2 separate regions of the Homo sapiens genome follow, and region 1 is linked to region 2. The links are contacts of gene promoters, found by promoter capture Hi-C in blood cells and fetal thymus (Javierre and others, 2016). All regions are on one chromosome and are shown on one strand. The core of a region is centred on a gene start or on the middle of the fragment in contact, and the rest is flanking DNA. Distances in the headings are between cores, read along the strand shown. Region 1 holds the start of S100A12 (S100 calcium binding protein A12). Region 2 holds the start of S100A7 (S100 calcium binding protein A7).

What was found. Contacts are between HindIII fragments. The CHiCAGO score rates a contact against its expected background, and 5 or more counts as called.
Region 1: the fragment with the promoter of S100A12 here is called in contact with the fragment with the promoter of S100A7 in region 2 in 5 of 17 cell types (naive CD8 T cells, total CD8 T cells, naive CD4 T cells and 2 more); the score reaches 7.2 in naive CD8 T cells.

What each region holds. Positions count from the first base shown.
Region 1 is chr1:153,374,189-153,378,822 of GRCh38, reverse strand. It overlaps S100A12 (S100 calcium binding protein A12), which reads left to right and starts at 3,202. Exons shown (of 3, transcript NM_005621.2): 1 at 3,202-3,271; 2 at 4,211-4,368. The coding sequence starts at 4,231. The HindIII fragment of the contact is 5,829 bases long and covers 3,104-4,634 here.
Region 2 is chr1:153,458,025-153,462,789 of GRCh38, reverse strand. S100A7 (S100 calcium binding protein A7) reads left to right here and starts at 2,139. Exons shown (of 3, transcript NM_002963.4): 1 at 2,139-2,182; 2 at 3,760-3,917. The coding sequence starts at 3,777. The HindIII fragment of the contact is 9,190 bases long and covers 1-4,765 here.

The DNA of each region.
Region 1 (4,634 bases), core at 1,953-4,452, 85 kb after region 2:
TTTTAAAATGTAAAAGTTTTCAGAAAAATGAGGATTGCTTTCCTTTTATGCACTTATTATCTTGACTACCTAAGTTGCAAGGTATTTTTATATATTCATATGTTCAAAAGCCAGCAACTCTCCTGTTGGTCCATTATTGAATGTGCTGTGAATGAAGTCTTTTGCAATTAAAATGAGATTCGCCCACATCCAAGATGAAAAAAAAAATTCCCTCTTAACACTACTTTTGCTACATTCCAGATGTTTTGATATGTTGTGTTGTGTCTCTATTTTTGTATGTTTCAAAGAATTTTTTGATTTCTGCCTTAATTTTGTTGTTTAACCAAAAGTCAGGAACAAGTTGTTTAGTTTCCATTTATTTGTGTGGTTTTGAGAGTTCCTCTTGGTATTGATTTCTATTTTTATTCCACTGCGGTCCAAGATTCTTGGTATGATTTTGATTTTTTTGAATTTATTGAGATTTGCCTTATGACTGAGCATGTGGTTGATCTTAGAGTATGTTCCATGTGCAGATGAAAATAATATATATTCTGTGGTTGTTGGGTGCATTGTTCTATAGATGTCTATTAAGTCTAATTGGTCAAGTGTCAAATTTAAGTCCATAATTTCTTTGTTAGTTTTCTGCCTTGATGATTTGTCTACTGATGTCAGTGGGGTGTTGTCCCCTGCTATTATTGTGTGGCTGCCAAAATCTTTTCTTAGATGCAGAAGTACTTATTTTATAAATCTGGGTGCTCCAGTGTTGGGTGTGTATTTATTTAGGATGGTTAAATTTTCTTGTTAAATCGAACCCTTTATCACTATGTAATGCCCTTCTTTATCCTTTTTTACTGTTGTTGGCTTACAGTCTATCGGATCTGATTCAAGAATAGCAACCTCTGCTCTTTTTTGTTTTCTGTTTGCATGATAGATCTTTCTCCATCCCTTTACTTTGAATCTACAGGTGTCATTACACATGAGACAGGTGCTTGAAGACAGCAGAAGGATGGGTCTTGTTTTTAAATCGAATTTGCCAAGGTATGTGTTTTAAGTGCAGTGTTTAGGCCATTCACATTGGAGGTTAATATTTGTATGTGAGGCTGTGTTCCTGCTTTTTTGATTTCTATTTTTTTTTTTTGAGAGGGAGTCTCACTCTGTTGCCCAGGCTGGAGTGCAGTGGCGCGATCTCGGTTCACTGCAAGCTCCGCCTTGTGGGTTCACGCCATTCTCCTGCCTCAGCCTCCTGAGTATCTGGGACTACAGGTGCCTGCCACCATGCCTGGCTAATTTTTTGTATTTTTAGTAGAGATGGGGTTTCACCATCTTAGCCAGGATGGTCTCGATCTCCTGACCTCGTGATCCGCATTTAGCAACCTCTTGCCTGGATGGCTGGGATCCTGGGCTAGTCCCTTCTCCAGGCAGATGTGAAAAAAAAAAAACATCTCAGGATCCCAAACTTACTAAGCCAGAGGGAAAAGTCAAGCTGGGAAATGGGTCATGCAAGCCTGCCCCCACCCAGGTTGGTTTCTAAATAAGATAGCTACAAAGATAAAAAGCCATACACCAATCTCACAACTTGCCCACAAGGAAATTCCTTGTGAGCCTCAAGATCTTTACCCTAAAACAGTTCTATTGAATTTCACCCTGGCAGTGTAATTGACAGCTTATCTTCACAGGTGTGGGACAAAGGGCAGAACATAAAGTCATCCCTCTGCTCACCCAAGACAAATCCATATCTGATTGCTTCCTCTCCCCTATTTTTGTTATCTTATGTAAAAATGCAGATTCACTGAGCCAGATGAAGGCATAAGTGACTATTTCCTCTACTCCGCTCCCACATGAAAATTGTGTATTCAGTGAAAGATTGATCAAAGACTCAAAAGGATGCAATCACTTGTCTCTTATCTACTGACACATTTAAAAAATATTTCTTCCTCTTCCCCCAATATCCACTGTTTCTCCTTCAAATATTGAAGCCCTCAAAATCATCTTTGGAGAAAGACGTAGACCTACCTCTGGGCACGCATCCTTAACTTTGGCCAAATAAACCTCCTAAAATGATTGAGATTCACCTTGGTCATTGTCATTGATTTACACAAGCCTGATCATCCTGCTCTGGTGGTGTCCTCCTGGGCCTAGTGAAACAAATACTGTCAATGGCTTAACAATGTTGCACTGAGATTGTGTCAGTCAAGGTGACACATGGATCGGAGAGACAGACTTTTGCCTCCAGATCCAGAGAGGTCGGTGGGCACATGAAATGAACTAGCTTTGCTAAGGGGGATATCTGTGTTGTGGGGTAGATGGCAGCACAGGTTCTGGCATGGCCTTGATTGCTCAGCAATCTTATTGACCTCTAGGCATAAACCAAGGGCAGAGTGCTTTTGGATGTCCCTTAGCTTTGGTGCGACATGGGGAATGTACAGATGAGACTTAATCCATTTTGGGCAGGTTTCTGAATCTTGAAGGACCACCTCTCCATGAATCCTGGGCATCTGTTGTCCCTTGCTGCCTCTCTGTGAGTAATAAAGTTGCTTTACTAAAACTCGTGTGAATGTTCTGTCTTACTGAACTCATGAACATGGTAAAGTAACCTAGGCATGGTGAACTTTCTTCACACACAATGATTACCCTACTCCAGCTTTCTAGGTCTTTGTAACAGCCAAGTTAGAAAGTTGGGAAAGCAAAGGGGAGGCATAGTAGCATTGCTCTCTCCTTTTTTGAAAACCTTGGAATCTATTTTGAAAACTGATCCTCTGCTCCAGTGATGAACTTTGCATCCCAGAACGACTTAGGAGGAGGTCTCCCTACCTATCTCCTTAGCTGCATAAAGATCTTTAAGTTGATATTCCATTTGCCAAAACTGAAGAGCTGGTAACCTCATCTGTTAAAACAAGACACTCAGGCTGTAAAGTTTGTTCTCCTAGTCTTTTATTAGGGAGCAGTGGAGTAGAGCTAAACCTGAAACCTGGGCCCTGGCTCAGGGCTAAAAAAGGTTCAGGGCACCCCTGTGCGGGTGGGTGGAGTGGGGGTGATTTTGTTTCAGGCTGAGCAGGAGGGCAAAATTCAGTCTGGGTACAATCTGGGCTGCTCCTGTGGCAGCCTAAGCCACAGGTTTGAAGCTTCTATTGAGCAACAGAGTACTTTACATAAATTGCCTCAAGATGAATCAGAGATTTCTTCACCCAAGGGCTAAGATGAAGCCTGAACTGATTATAAAACCTTCCTTGGCTCAGTGCCCTTCACCACTGCTGGCTTTTTGCTGTAGCTCCACATTCCTGTGCATTGAGGGGTAAGTGCATTTTCCTTGGATGGGTTCTTAGGTGGTCCACAGGGTAGTGACTGCAGGTGACCACTTTGAAATCACAAGGTGTTGGAAACCACAACCCTCCACTTGCCTGAGCACCTCTGGGGTGATATTGCATTTTGGACCCAAGTAGATCAGCTCTTGTTGTGCTATGTAGACTCAGTCCCATGATTTAAGAATGGCTAAGCAGGCCGGGTACGGTGGCTCACGCCTGTAATCCCAGCACTTTGGGAGGCCGAGGCGGGCGGATCATGAGGTGAGGAGATCGAGACCATCCTGGCTAACATGGTGAAACCCCGTCTCTACTAAAAAAATACAAAAAATTAGCCGGGCGTGGTGGCGGGTGCCTGTAGTCCCAGCTACTCGGGAGGCTGGGGCAGGAGAATGGCGTGAACCCGGGAGGCAGAACTTGCAGTGAGCCGAGATCGCCCTACTGCACTCCAGCCTGGGCGGCAGAGTGAGACTCCGTCTCAAAAACAAACAAACAAACAAACAAAAAACCCAAAACAACAACAACAAAAAAAGAATGGCTAAGCAGGGGTGGGTTATGGACCATTTGTGGGGGATATGTGGCCATAGTGCCATCACCTGAGGAAAGCAAACAGCCTGGCCAATCACAGAACCCTTCCCAAGGGACCTTGAGTAAGCAATACCCTCCAAGTTATGCACCCCGGTGGATGAGGTGGTATGGAACATGGGCAACTGAGGCTGATTTTTTTAGACGTTAGACAGTATTATATGTTTTCTCCTCCCCATCCTATCCACACATGAGAAGTTCACCATGGATCAAACAGAGCAGAGACCACAAAATAGATATGGAGGATGTTATGTTTTCTTTAGGCCCTTGATTCAGAAAGAGAGGGGAGAGTGGAGGTTGAGGGGTGGGGGAGAAACTGCCTCTAGACTTCCCTTGTTTCCTTGAAGGTTAACATTAGGCTGGGAAGATGACAAAACTTGAAGAGCATCTGGAGGGAATTGTCAATATCTTCCACCAATACTCAGTTCGGAAGGGGCATTTTGACACCCTCTCTAAGGGTGAGCTGAAGCAGCTGCTTACAAAGGAGCTTGCAAACACCATCAAGGTAGGTGATGCCCCTCTCACTGCAAACTTGCCCATGACCCTGCACTGAGGGGAGTGGCAAGGCCTGGCAGAGGATGGTGGGACAAGGACTGGGGTGGGGTTGGCCCCAGTTTGAGCTCCCAAAGGATGCTCTCCCCGCTGCTGTGGGAGAGGTCCTTTGCTTCCCTCTCTCAATAACTCACTTAAGGCTCTACTCAGTTCCTCTCTCTGAGTCTGTTTCCTCATATGTAAAATGGAGAGAGGCAGGGCACGGGAGGGGTTGAATGA
Region 2 (4,765 bases), core at 890-3,389:
CAAGAGAATGAAAAGATAAGCCACAGACTGGGAGAAAATGTTTACAAAAGACATATCAGACTTTGTATGTTATCCAAAACATACAAAGAACTCTTAAAACTCAACGATAAGAACACAAACCAAACAATTAGAAAATGGGCCAAAGACCTTAACAGATATCTCATCAAAGAAGATACAGAAGGTGACAAATAAGCATATCAGAAGATGCTCCACATCATATGTCCTCAAGGAAATGCAAATTAAAACAACAATGAGATACCAGTACACACTTATGAGAATGCCCAAAATCTGGAACACTGGACAACAGCAAATGCTGAAGAAGGATGTGGAGCAACAGGAACTCTCATTCATTGATGGCAGGAACACAAAATAGTACAGCCACTTTGGAAGACAGTTTAGTGCTTTCTTAAAAAACTAAACATACTCTTACCATAGGATCCAGAAATCACACTCCTTGGGATTTACCCAAAAGAAGTGAAAACTTATGTCCACACAAAAACCTGCATACACATATATATGAATATATGGCACAATGGTGAAGTCTGGGCTTTTAATGAAGCCATCCTAAATAGCATGCATTGTACCCACTAAGAAATGTCTCATCCTTCACCCACCGCCTCACCTGCTGCCCTTCACAGTCTCCAGTGTCTATGATTCTACTCTCTACCTCCATCTGTATGCATGATGTAGCTCCCACTTACACATGAGGTTGCACAGTATTTGACTTTCTGAGTAATTTCACTTAAGATAATAGCCTCCAGTTCCATCCATGTTGCCGCAAAAAGCGTGATTTCATTCTTTTTTTATAGCTGAGTAGCATTCCACTGTGTGTGTGTGTATGTATCTTTTGCTGTTAAAAGTAATATTGCCATCACATGGGGAACTGGGAGAGGGAGAAACAGGTCCCCCTGGTTACATAGGTACTGACGAGAAGGAAGTTGAAGAAAGATGATGGGTGGAGAAAATAGGTCCCACCTAGGGAGACATCACATCAGCTCTGTGGAGCCCCAGAGTGCTTAAAGGGCTGGCACTAAATGAACCTGGAACTCTCTTGCACCCTAAAAGGAACATTGCAAGGGGGTAGCAGAAAAAGTCCATTTCAGTGATTCATCATCTCCCTTTCCTCACCATGCCCCAGGGATTCCCATGCCTTCCCAACCCTCTTGCCCCTACCTGGGTCAGCCTTTCCACAGCAGGTTAGGGCACATTATAGCCAAGGGCACAACTCCCAACTCCTACACAGGCTGTTTTGCATAGGAGGAGGAAAAACACTGAAGACTTTCTGGGAAGTTAGTGCCATGGGGCAGGAAAGAACTTTTCCCACTCCCTGCCTCCAGGCTCATTCCATGGGGGGGTCACTCCACCACTCAACCTAGATAGTGAGGCCCCTGACCCCAGTCCCCCCACCTAATTCCAGGGCTTCTGTGAGGGGCTGACCAATGGTTAGCAATGAAGTAACCCTGCTTCCCTCCCTGGACTTTGAGTTCCCATAGGGCAGACCCTGATGTGACCCAAGACCTATAGCACAGGGGATAAGAGTAAGGATTTGATTCAGGCTTTTCTGAGTCCATATAATGATTTGTTGTGTTTACTAGCTGAGTAAACTTGGGAACATCTCAACTTCTCCTTTCCTAAAATAGAGATTGAAGCACCTCTTAGGACTATGAGGGTTGAGGAGGATGCAGGAGCAGCAGGTATCTTGATATCTAGACATTAAAATGCTCAGTCAGCGGTGGGGGTCATAGAACAGGCTGTCATAACAAATGTGTGGAAGGATAAGGGGAGGGAACAAACAAGACCATGCTGCCTTCAGGAGTCTGAAACTCCATCCTCTTTGGGTCCAGAGGCCCAGTGCTCTTTTCTCCCATTTTCTGACCTGCTACTACACATGTACCGCTGCCTTACCCTCAAATCAAGGTTGAGCCAGAGAAGACTCCAGGTGAGGTCTCTGGGGTGGGGTGGGACCTGGTGACCTGGGACACTGGCCAGAAATCCTGAGCACAGCCTCCTGGGTGTGTCCCACCCACCTGATGTGGGGCAAGCCTCCAAGAAACAGATGACAGAGGTGGCCCCAGGCCTCCCAGCCCCTGGGAAGAGCCAGGCTGAGCCTTATAAAGGACTGCTCTTTGTCCAAACACACACATCTCACTCATCCTTCTACTCGTGACGCTTCCCAGCTCTGGTAAGTCTCACCTGCCTCTTTGCGTTTTCTAGAAGTGCCCAGTGCCTGGCCTGCCATGCTGCCTGTAGGAAGGGAAAGGGCTGTGGACAAAGACTCAGAAGCCTGGGTCTAGGCCAGCTCTGCCATTAGCTGGGCTGTGTGACCTTCACTTGACCCCAAAAGCCCACGTCTGTATAACCAGGTGGCTGAACCAGACCTGTCCATTGCTCCTTTGGGATCTCCTGAGGCAACTCCTGTGGAAATGTCCCCAGTGGGACCTGAGCACAGGACCCTCCCTGTCCTCTTCCTCCCTGGATTCATCCTCCTGTTGGGGTCCCGGTTGCTAAATCCCCTCCCCAGCTCCAGCTCCACAGAGGGTGGAGGGCTAGGGGTCCCCTGTGAATGCTTTGGAGGCTCTCCAAACCCCCAGGCCTGGGACCCCGACACAGCATAGCCCTGGCCAGATGGCTTGCCCCTACCTGGGTAAGGTATTGAGAAACCAACGCTCCGTCACTCCCTACCACAACCTGCAAATTGTCAGTCACCCTCTGGGCACAGGGCTTGCCCTCTGGCCTTGGCCTCAGATTCAAAAAAGCTCTGGGTGGCTCCTCTTAGTCAGTTGCCGGCATGGAGCTTTCTCCTGCATTGAGAGGTGTTGGGGGTTTATTGTCAGACACCCATATGCATTAGCCAAGGTCCTTTCCTGGTTCTTTGGAAAGTGTGGGAAGTGAGAACTGCACTGTCCTATTTTTCAGGCTTGGGGTGCAGGCCAGCCCAGACTGACTACTGGCTGAAAGATCTGCTTTGGGAAGTCAGACATTTTTATTTAAACAGTCAAGGCTTGGTGATTCAGAGGGTGCAGATAATTCCCAAGAGCAGACATGAAGTGACTCCCACCTCACTCCCACCCCGTCCAGCAGCTTAAGAACCAGAGAGTTATTTCTGTTCCTTGTAACAGAGGCCATTCCTGTTTCTCGTTCCCAAGGGAATACAAGAAGGGCCCCCTGTGCTCGGGACAGGACTGTGTTTCCTGCTAACACTCACGTCCACGCTCACATGTGCACCTGGAGCCTGCACACACCGTGTCATGCAGGGCTTGCACTTGAGTCAAGGTGGGGCCCACGGTGTCTGGTTCCTGAAGCAGCCGAGGAGGGTCAGACACCAGATCACCAAGGCCATTGTCCTGCCCCCATGACTGTCACCCCGACTGTGAAGCTGGAGGAGATGGATTTGGTGCTCTTTTAAGAGTGGGGTCTGCCATGTGCTGGCTGAGGCTGGGGTGTCCCAGCTTAGTTCTTCCATGTGTTGCTGGCGCCCGACTCTCCCTGCTTCTCCCTCTCTGAAGCACTGTCCACAGCTGGACTTCCGCCATCCACCTGCATCTCCTCTTGGCCCTGGCCAGGATGGGCCAGGTCTCAGACTTGGTCCTACCCTCTCATTTTTGAGCAACTTATCCCATCACATTAAAAAAAAATTGAGTTCGTTCTGCTACACCTTATCCGTGTTTTTACTCTGTCCTCAGCCCTCCTTCCAGCACTCCCAAATAGAGACCCTAACTTAAATGAAGGGAAAAAAATGATTGTCTTTATTTCCTGAAGGCTTTTTGAAAGCAAAGATGAGCAACACTCAAGCTGAGAGGTCCATAATAGGCATGATCGACATGTTTCACAAATACACCAGACGTGATGACAAGATTGAGAAGCCAAGCCTGCTGACGATGATGAAGGAGAACTTCCCCAACTTCCTTAGTGCCTGTGTGAGTCGGTGTCTAGCTTCTCAATGTTGGAGGATACATTTTGCTATGTGGCCTTGGACAGATCACCCTCACCCTCTGATTAAAAAATTTCCCATTTGCAAATAGGGCTTTATTACTTGGATCATATGTGAATCTAAGGATGGTAGGCAAAAAAGTATGAAAATGGGAAAGAGTTATACAGATATAAAGGAGGTTATTAGATGGTCAGCAAAGTGTGCAGCTTGAGGGCAGTGCACAGTCCCCTCCCAGCACTCACTGACCCTCTCTCTGTGAGACTGAAACTCACATGCTCAGGTCCTGTTTCCCAAAGGCCCCACATCAACATCCCTGAGATTACTGGGAAAGCACTAGAAGTTCCATTGTTAGTAGAAATCAATAGCCCTCTTTGCAATAAACAAGACTCATTAGCAAATCTGAAAAAAAACTGTGGGCTACTAGGTACCAAAGGGTCTAGATGACCAAGAGTAGGATACCCAGAAGATGAGTTTGGTGGAAAAGGAGAAGAAAGGAGAGGAGGCCAGAGAAAGAAGAGAACAAAAGCATGAGGGCCAATTTTGAGGCCCTGGGGTAGAACTAAGGTAGGCAGTGCCCTTAGAGGCTGGGACGGGAAAGAGTGAGGCTGGGGCAGGGGACTGCTCTCCCCAAGGTCACTTAACAGAGCACCTTGGGACAGGACCTGCCTCCCATCCTGAGGTGTGAGACAAAAAGACTCCCTAGAGAACTCCAGGGATAACACTCACGTCCTCACCCCAACTTCACCCACTCACCCTGTGCTCTCAGCCCCGCCACCATGCCTGTGCAGATCTAGGTACTTGTCTGTATCTCTGCCTCCTCCTCTCCCTCCCAGC